3 separate regions of the Homo sapiens genome follow, and regions 1 and 2 are each linked to region 3. Evidence: promoter capture Hi-C in 16 types of primary human blood cells and fetal thymus (Javierre and others, 2016). All regions are on one chromosome and are shown on one strand. The core of a region is centred on a gene start or on the middle of the fragment in contact, and the rest is flanking DNA. Distances in the headings are between cores, read along the strand shown. Region 1 has its middle 44 kb from the start of GBP6. Region 2 has its middle 27 kb from the start of GBP5. Region 3 holds the start of GBP4 (guanylate binding protein 4).

What was found. Contacts are between HindIII fragments. The CHiCAGO score rates a contact against its expected background, and 5 or more counts as called.
Region 1: a fragment that was not itself captured here is called in contact with the fragment with the promoter of GBP4 in region 3 in 2 of 17 cell types (activated CD4 T cells and non-activated CD4 T cells); the score reaches 8.0 in activated CD4 T cells.
Region 2: a contact is called between a fragment that was not itself captured here and the fragment with the promoter of GBP4 in region 3, in 2 of 17 cell types (activated CD4 T cells and non-activated CD4 T cells). The highest score is 7.0, in activated CD4 T cells.

The regions. Positions count from the first base shown.
Region 1 is chr1:89,318,677-89,322,103 of GRCh38, reverse strand. No RefSeq gene overlaps it. Among named protein-coding and RNA genes, the nearest start is that of GBP6, 44 kb to the left of the region's middle. The HindIII fragment of the contact is 2,856 bases long and covers 742-3,427 here.
Region 2 is chr1:89,298,603-89,301,883 of GRCh38, reverse strand. It overlaps the pseudogene LOC100421401. Among named protein-coding and RNA genes, the nearest start is that of GBP5, 27 kb to the right of the region's middle. The HindIII fragment of the contact is 3,568 bases long and covers 1-3,281 here.
Region 3 is chr1:89,197,620-89,201,022 of GRCh38, reverse strand. It overlaps GBP4 (guanylate binding protein 4), which reads left to right and starts at 2,081. Exons shown (of 11, transcript NM_052941.5): 1 at 2,081-2,228. The coding sequence starts at 2,189. LOC107985076 (a long non-coding RNA gene) reads right to left here and starts at 2,676. Exons shown (of 3, transcript XR_002958332.2): 1 at 2,615-2,676; 2 at 1,965-2,520. RefSeq lists a silencer at 1,983-2,277. The HindIII fragment of the contact is 3,654 bases long and covers 1-2,247 here.

The DNA.
Region 1 (3,427 bases), core at 920-3,419, 120 kb before region 3:
TGCCCAGACATCAAGAAACATCCACAAACATCAAGACCATCTGGGAAAACATGACATCGCCAAATGAACTAAATATGGTACCAGTGACCAATTCTGGAGTGACAGAGATATGTGACATTTCACACAGAGAATTCAAGATTGCTGTGTTGAGGAAGCTCAATAAAATCCAAGGTAACACAGAGAAGGAATTCAGAATCCCATCGGAAACATTTAACAAAGTGATTGAAATAATTTAAAAGAATTAAGCAGAAATGCTGGAGCTGAAGAAATTCAATTGACAAACTAAAACTAAAGAATATATCAGAATCTCACAACAGCAATCCAGGAGAAGAAAAAATTAGTGATCTTGAAGACAGGCTATTTGAAAATACACAGTGATAGAAGTTAAAAGAATAAAAAAAGGAAGCATCTCTATAGGATCTAGAAAACAGCCTCAAAAAGGCAAATCTAAATGTTATTGGCCTTAATGAGGAGGTAAAGAGAGGCTGAGTTAGAAATCTTATTCATAGGGATAAAAATAGACATTACCAAACCTAGGGAAAGATAACAATATTCAAGAACAAGAAGATTATAGGAGACCAGGCAGATTTAACACAAATAAGACTACCTCAATATGTTTAATAATCAAACTCCCAAAGGTCAAGGATAAATAAGGCATACTAAAAGCAAAAAGAGAAAAGAAAAAAAAAAACATATAAAGGAGCTTCAATATGTCTAGCACATATTACTCAGTGGAAAGCTTACTAGCCAGGAGTAAGTGGTATAATATATTTAAACTGCTAAAAAAAAATCTTTTATCCTAGAATATCATACCAGTGAAAATATCCTTCAAACATAGAGGAAAAGTAAAGACTTTTCCAGCAAACAAAAGCTGAGGTAGTTCATCAACATAAGACCTGTCCTAAAAGAAATGCTAAAGAGAGTACTTCAATCTGAAAGGAAAGCATGTTAATGAGCAAAAAAAAAATCATCTGAGTACATAAAATTCACTGGTAACAGTGAGTATACCGACAAATATAAAATAATATGACACTGTAATTGTGGTATGTAAACTACTCATACCTTGCATAGGAAGAGTAAAAGACAAATTTATCGAAAATAATAACCACAACAACTTTTTAAGACATAGTATAATAAGATATAAATAGAAACAACGAATAGTTGAAAAGCAGAGAGGATGAAGTTAAAGTGTTGAATGTTATTAGTTTTCTCTTTGCTTGTCAGTTTTTTTTTGTAGATTTTAGCAATTAGAGTTTAACTGTCATCAGTGTAAAATAATGAGTTACAAGATATTAGTTGCAAGCCTTGTGGTAACCACAAATCAAAAAACCTACAACAGATACACAAAAAATGTATAGAGCAAGAACTTAAAACATACCAACAAGAAAATCACTTTCACAAAAAGAAAGACATGAAGGAAGAAGAGAAGAAAGAGAAGACCACAAACAACCAGAAAACAAAACCAAATGGCAGGAGTAAGTTGTTATTTAGCAACAATAACATTGAATGCAAATGGACTATACTCTCCAATCAAAAGACACAGAGAGGCCGAATGGATTAAAAAAACAGAATCCAGTGATCTGTTGCCTACAAGAAACACACTTCACCTATAAAGACACACACAAACTGAAAATAAGAAGAAGGAAAAAGACATTCCATGCCAATGGAAACCAAAAAAAGAGCAGGAGTAGCTATACTTATATCAGATAAAAGCATTTCAAGATAAAAACTATAAAAAAGACAAAGAATGTCACTATGTAACGAGTAAAAGGGATTAATATAGCAAGAGGATATAACCATTGTAAATATATATGCACCCAATACTGGAGCATCTAGATATATAAAGCAAATATTATTAGTTCAAAAGAGAGAGACAGACCACAGTATAATAACAGCTGGAGATTTCAACACCTCACCTTCAGCATTGGACAGATCAGCCAAACAAAAATTACAAAGAAAATATCAGACCTAATCTATACTATAGACCAAAAGACCTAATAGATATTTACAGATTATTTCATCCAAGGGTTGAAAAATACACGTTCTTCTGCTCAGGAAATAGATCATCCTCAAGTATAGACTATACTTTAAGCCACAAAATCAGTCTGAAAAATACAAAAAAGGTAAATATGATACTTGACACATATCAAGTATCTTCTCTGACCACAATGGAATAAAACTAGAAATCAAGCATATGAGAAAACTTAAAAGGAACACAAACATTTGGAAATTAATCAATTTGCTCCTGAATGACCAGTGGGTCAAAAAACAAGAATCAAATTTAAGAATTCCTGAAACAAATGCAAATGGAAAGAAAACATACCAAAACTTATGGGATAAGCAAAAGTGGTACTAAGAGGAAAGTTTATAGCAATAAGCACCTACAACAAAGAGGGAGCAATACTTCAAATAATCTAATGATGCATCTTAAGGAACTAGAAAAGCAAGAGCAAACCAAACCTAACATTAGTAGAAGAAAAGACATAATAATGATCTGAGCAGGAAAAAAAAAGAAATTGAAATGAGAAAAGCAATACTAAATGTCATCAAAAAGAAAAGTTGGTTTTTTGAAAAGATAATGAAAATTGGCAAACTTTTAGCCAGACTAACTGATAAAGACAGAAGACCCAAATAAATAAAATCAGAGATGAAAAAGGAGACATTACAACTTATACTGCAGAAATGTAAAGAATCACTGGACTACTATGAACAACTGTATGTCCACAAATTGGAAAACCTAAAAGAAGTGGATAAATTCCTAGACATACACAACCTACCAAGATTGAACCATTAAGAAATCTGAAGCCTAAATAGAGCAATAAAAAGTAATGACATCAAAGCCATAATAAAAAGTCTCCCAGCAAAGAAAAGCCCAGGACCCAATGGTCTCAATGCTGAACTCTACCAGACATTTAAAAAAGAATACCAATCCAACTCAAACTATTCCCCCAAAAAAGAAGGAGAGGGAATACTATGAAACTTATTCTACAAGGCCGGTATTACCCTGATGCCAAAAGCAAAGAAACATCAAAAAAAGAAAACAACAGGCTAATATCTCTGGTTAATATTGATACAAATATCCTCAACAAAATACCAGCAAAGCAAATTCAACATCAAATTTGAAAGATCATTCATCATGACTGTCATTGCAACCCCTGCTTTTTTTTTCTTTTATTTCCATTTGCTTGGTAAATATTCCTTCATTCCTTTATTTTGAGCCTATGTGTGACTGCACATGAGATGGGTCTTCTGAATACAGCACACCAATGGATCTTGACTTTTTATTCAATTTGTCAGTCTGTGTCTTTTAATTGGGTCATTTGGCCCATTTACATTTAAGGTTAACATTGTTATGTGTGAATTTGATCCTGTCATCATGATGCTAGCTAGTTATTTTGCACATTTGTTGATGCAGTTTCTTCCTAGT
Region 2 (3,281 bases), core at 253-2,752, 100 kb before region 3:
TCACCCCAGTTAGAATGGCTATTATCGAAATGACAACAACAAAAAAATACTGGCAAGGATGCAGAGAATGGAGAACTCTTACACACTATTCACACAGTTAGTGGGAAGGAAATTTAGCATAGACATGATAGAAAACAGTATGGAAGTTCTACAGAAAATTAAAAATAGAGTGTCATAGAGTCCAAAATTCCACTATTGTGTATATATATCCAAAAGAATTAAAATCAGCATATTGTAGAGATATCTGCTCTTTAATGTTTAATGCAGCACTATTCACAATAACGAAGATACAGAATTAACCTAAGTGTCTATGGATGGATAAATGGATAAAGAAAATGTGGTACATATACACAATGGAACACTAGTCAGCCTTAAAAAAAGAATGAAATCCTTTATTTGTGGCAACATGGATCAAACTGGCGGATGTTGTGTTGAGTGAAATAAGCCAGGCCCAGAGAGGCAAATACTGCATGATTTCACTCATATGTGGAATCTAAGAGAGTTGATCTCATAAAAGTAGAGAGTAGTGGTTACCAGAGCATGGGAAAGTGGGGAGAGGTGCGGAGGATGGCAAGAAGTTGGTCAATGGGTATAAAGTTACAGTTAGGAAGAATAACTTACATGTTCGATTACACAGTAGGGTGACTGTAGCTAATAACAATGTGTTGTATATTTCAAGATAGCTAGAATAAAGGATCTTTGAAAGTTATCATCACAAAGAAATGATAAAGGTTTGAGGTGATTGACATAACTACCCTGATTTTATCATTATATAATGCATACATGCATTGAAACATCACACTGTATCTTCAAAACATCTGCAATTATTGTGTGTCTACTATAAATAAAATCTTAAAAATCTCAAAAAAAGTATAACTGAACAGAGCCACCAGCTGCTGCACATAGGAGGACCTCAGACTGTAGAGACTTAGTCTAGGCAAGACATCAAAGAAACTAAAGAACAAAGATACCAAGTAATTAACGTTAATACATTGTTCAAAGAATCAAAGCAAAATATGATGACATTGACTCATGATATAATAATTTCAATAAGGAGATAGAAGTTATAAAAAACAGAAACTCTGGCATTGAGAAGTTCAATAACACATAAAAATAATTAAATGACCATAACTCCCAGAATTTGATTAAAAACATTAATCTACACCTTCAGGAATCTATATGAAGTCTAAAAATATAAACACAGCAAAATTCCCACTAAAATACACCGTACTCATCTGCTAATGGCAAGATGGGGTAATAACAAGAAAGCTAGTCAGGCAACATGTACTAAGTTGTAACTGCAGTTACTGGAATTTTCTATATACTTGTATGTATATATTTTTACTTTAAGTTCCAGGATACATGTGCAGAATATGCAAGTTTGTTACATAGGTATACATGTGCCATGGTGGTTTGCTGCACCTATCAACCTGTCATGTAGGTTTTAAGCCCTGCATGCATTAGGTATTTGTCCTAATGCTCTCCCTCCTCTTGTCCCCCACCCCCTGATAGGTGCCAGGTGCCAGTGTGTGTTTTTCCCCTCCCTGTGTCCGTGTATTCTCACTGTTCAACTCCCACTTATGAGTGAGAACATGTGATGTTTGGTTTTCTGTTCCTGTTTTAGTTTGCTGAGAATGATGGTCTCCAGCTTCATCCACATCCCTGCAAAGGACATGATCTCATTCTTTCTATGGCTGCATAGTATTCCATGGTGTATATATGCCACATTTTCTTTATCCAGTCTATCATTGATGGGCATTTAGGTTGGTTCCAAGTCTTTGCTAATGTAAATAGTTACTGGAATTTTGTAACCTTCATTGCATCTATACTTTGTCATGTTCTAGATATTAACTCAGCATGCCTTTTCTAAATATTTAAAAACCCCACGAGCTAATTTTACTTTCAGCTTCAGTTTTCACTCCATTTCCTTTCTGGGAATGATTAACATTCTTAGTTTGTTTTCAGTGTTTATAAATTAGAAGCAAAACCTTAGAGGGAGGAAACAGAGCAAGGGTGAGTTGGCAGCTACGGAGAACTAGTTAGTACTGAGCACAGTCACCTGCAGTGCTGTGGAGCAAGTACACTCATTGTTTATAATTTATCCACTCTAAGGTATTTTGTTGGAGCAGTCAGAATAGACTAAGACAAGTCATACAACTAAAAGTGAAATAAAATAAATTAATAAATTAAAATTCACCCGTGGTGATATTCTGCCATATATGTGGTTTTCTTCCTTTCTTTTTTTTTTTTCCACTCTATTGTCAGCTCACTGCAGCCTCTGTCTCCCGGATTCAAGTGATTCTCCTGCCTCAGCCTACTGAGTAGCTGGGATTACAGGCATGCGCCACCAAGCCTGGCTAATTTTTATATTTTTAGTAGAGACTTTGTTTTGCCATGTTGCCCACGCTGGTCTCGAACTCCTGGGCTCAGGCAATCCACTCGCCTCGGCCTCCTAAAGTGCTGGGATTACAGGTGTGAGCCACTGTGCCCGGTCATATGTGTTCTATACATATGGAGCTCTCCATTTACATTCAAAATAAAAGTTTCATTTCATACAGTTGAGTGTTAACAGTACAATTATTCCATGGGTCTACAAGCAAATACTTGACTCTCAATATATTTAAATGGTTCTCTATATCTCTATTTTTATAGCAAGATTATGTAAACATAACATGAAGGCTACCATAATTTCCAAGAAGAGATGTTGGATATGATAAGTGCCCTCTTCACTAAGAATGTGAAATATGGATATGGATATATCTTAATTCAAACTAAATTTCGAATAATTCATAAGTGGAATTTTAACAGGACAAATAATCTAATTTACCCTGCCTACGTATTCACCTCTCTAGTCTAGTTTGTTTGTAATATGCTTCACCAGGAAATTGTTTTTCCAGGATATCTCAAGCATATTAACTAAAGAAAAAAATAATTAATTGTTTAAATACAGTGACCTGAGAAACACACAAGAGTGAATAGGAAGATAAAGGTGAATTTAGTAAGAAAAGATAGGACTTATGACGGTATTCACACTGTGTAGAGTTTGCTTGTGATTTTAGAACTGTAGTCCCAATATTTGAATCCCATTGATGTCCCAAATTTCCTGCCTCTTTCAGGGCTGGGGATTCTGGTAGTGACTTATGTGAATATCATCAACAGTGGAATGGTTTCATTATTTGGAAAATGCAGAAACACCTCTGACTCAGAGTGAGAACACACTGGCCCTACAGAGTGATGTTCTCACAGACAAGTCCTGCAGATGCCTTACCTGGCTCATTTCA
Region 3 (3,403 bases), core at 832-3,331:
ATGCCAGTTGATAAGAATTTGGTGTTGACACAGAACAGGGTACCTCTTCTTCAGGAGATCATTCCAGATTGGGCCATTCATATGCTTATCACTACCTCCAGAATGTCAATTTGTAAAAACACAGACACACACACGACAGTGACTATTCTGAACTATATTAAAGTAAGTACACACAGATAACATTATCACTTGCCCTGTATGATCTACTAACGTCATAACTTTCTGTCTCCTTGCCTTGCTCAGTGAGATTAAAAACATCTGCAACTCATTTCCTCCAGTTTCCTTCCAAAATCAGTGAGCCAGTAAAACACCCTCATTTCAAAAAACTGTTTTATTTGATACATCTTGTAAATGAATTACAAGTTAACCACAAAATACAAAAACATATAGACATTGCACTTTAAATATTCAAAAAATGTATAAATAAGAAGCTCAAAATCTGATATGGAAAAATATTCAAAAAATGTTCAGAGTCTTTTTATCAAAATAAAAGTTATTTCCTTTTTATGAGTATGTGTGTGCATATCTGTGATTATAAAAAAAGTCTTTAAAAATTCATATAATTCAGAAAGACATTTTAAAAAAATCACCTGAGCTAGAAGTACTAATTTTAAGGAGGTAGTGGTTGGGGGAACACTTATAGACTTTTATCTGTGTAACACAGACATATTGCTATGTATATTTTCTATGTGCATAGACATATTGCTATGTGCAATCATTATACATACAACTGTGAATTAACAATTTTTTTTGAGACAGTATCTCACTCTGTTGCCCAGGTTGGAGTGCAGTGGGACCACCATGGCTCATTGCAGCCTTGACCTCCTGGGCTCAGGTCATCCTCCCACCTCAGACTCCCAGGTAACTAGGACTATTATAACAGGCACATGCCATTATGCCCAGCTAATTTATTATTATTATTATTTGTAGAGATGGGGTTTCCCCATATTGCCCAGGCTGGTTTCCAATTCCTGGACTCAAGTGATCTGCCCACCTTGGCCTCCCAAAATGGTTGGATTGCAGGAGTGAGCCACCACACCCAGCCTAAATTTCTTCTTGATTAACATTTCCATGATTATCTGAAGTCAGTAACATTGGATTATCTGGAAAGGGGTGCCACTGGTGAAATTCAGGTGTTTCAAACACATTTACCTGGATTCAGTCATCCCTGTACTTTTTCTTCTTCTTCTTTTTTTTTTTTTTTAAGAGAGAGGGACTTCCTGACATTAAAAAATGGTAAGAGAAAAAAGCACCTGATTTCTTATTACTGGTCCTATTTAAAACTTGACTTAGCTTTATTTTCACTTTCAATATTGCTTATAGGAAATAAATGTTAAGTTTTGAATCAAAATCGGCACCAGTAATTTTACCTGATTAAGTGCCTAAAATTTTGTACTTATTAATTTGCAAATGTTTAATCAGACATTACTAAACAAATAGGAAGATCTAAGGGATAGGCACAAATGGGGAATCATTACCCATTTATTTCAGATAGATTTCCCAAACTCTGTTAACAAACTGGCTAGTCATTTTAGGAACTGAGTCCATTTTTCTGGTAGCCTGGGTAAGACTCCTAATTATAAATTATGCTTTTTATGGTCCAATCATCCTCCTGTCCTCCAAAAGATCCAGTTTCAATGAGATGTTTGTGTTTTGAAAGAGAAGTATTTACTTGCCACCACCGCACCTCTGGGCAACAACGTTAGAGGATACATAGATATCCATAGACACACACACAAACACACACATATTTTATGGTTAATGAAAAAATAAAGAAAAGAGATGAGAAACAGAAACATATAAGCATGTAAAAAAAAATAAAAGCAAACAAAAACTCAAATTTCTTCCCTGACAAAATTACCCCTGAGAGACAGGTAGATGAAACAACATTCATGTCTGCTGCTCTATATTCATTTTGGAGGCGAAAGATACCTAAGCTAAGGGTGGAAGAGGGACAAACAAACCTGAGTTTCAGGAGTCTGGTGTGGAGGAACCAGCACTTTCAAGCTCCTTTAGTTTCCTGTCTTGATAAACAGGAAAATCCCCAACAGTCAACTCCCCACAAAGTGCATGTCCTTTCAATTTCGGTTCTCACAGACTCTTACTTGGATGTCTGTAAATCCGGCTGGACTTTCAGCTTCTAAGAACAGTCCGTTTCTCGAGGATCCAGGCGCAGGAGGACAGAGCAATGGGTGAGAGAACTCTTCACGCTGCAGTGCCCACACCAGGTAAGTTTGCTCTTAAGCTTTACCTTTCAAGTATATTTGGGTTATAACAAACAACAACAAATTCCCAAGCGCAGACTGCACACGGGGAGGGTTGGAGACTTCACACTGGCGGGTGACAAAGGCAGTGGAGGAACCTCGCGGGGAAGTCTGATGCTGCTTGAACCCCTGAGTGCTTTGCTCCGTGTGGCCCAGCGTCTCTAGACGGTCCACAGGCGGCGACCAGAGGCGCACCGGTGTCTCCAGGATGCGCTGCTCCTCCTCGGGCTTCCTCCCAGAGCTGTGGCATTTTCTCCTGCGAAATACCATCATCTAGTATACATATACACATTTTTTGCTTGTTTGTTTTATTAATTTTCTGTCCCCCACTAGAATATGTGATACCCTACCTTGTTTTAACCTGAGTTGACTCTCCCTTAGCTGAAAGAGCCAGACAGTCTGCATCTCGGCTCCTTCACTTGCAGCCCCTTACCCACCCGCTTCCTCAGGGACTTAACTTGTGCAAGCTGACTCCCAGCACATCCAAGAATGCAATTAACTGATAAGGTACTGTGGCAAGCCATACCCGCAGTTCCCAGGAATTCGCCCGGTTAACAGCACCCAGAGCCCCCCGCGTTTGTGTCTGGTTGATAAAGCCCAAAGCCCCGCTTCTATCACCTTGTGATAGAATTAAAGCCCCTGCACCTAGTACTGTTTACTTTCCTGTAACCATTTATCCTTTTAACTTTTTGCCTACTTTACTTCTGTAGGATTGTTTTAACTAGACCCCTCCCCCCAACCTCTCCTTTCTAAACCAAAGTATAGAAGAAAATCTAGCCCCTTCTTCGGGCCGAGAGAATTTTGAGCACTAGCCGTCTCTCGGTCGCCGGCTAATAAAGGACTCCTGAATTCGTCTCAGAGTGTGGCGTTTCTCTGTAACTCGCTGGGTTACAACAAATAGAGCTCCAAGAGGCAGAAGTTTGTATCAATTATGTTCCTTGCTTGTTGCTGAGAATCTAGAACGGTGTTAATTAGCACATGGTAGGTACGCAATACTCTTTATTAAATTAATGAGAGAGCAAATTCTTCTGGAATGCCTGGAGCCTTTTCTAACCACTCCTCATCTCCTTTTTGTAACATCCTGCCCCTATTTATTCCAGGAGTGGAATTATTCTGCCATCAGTGCCTTGATTTTCTAA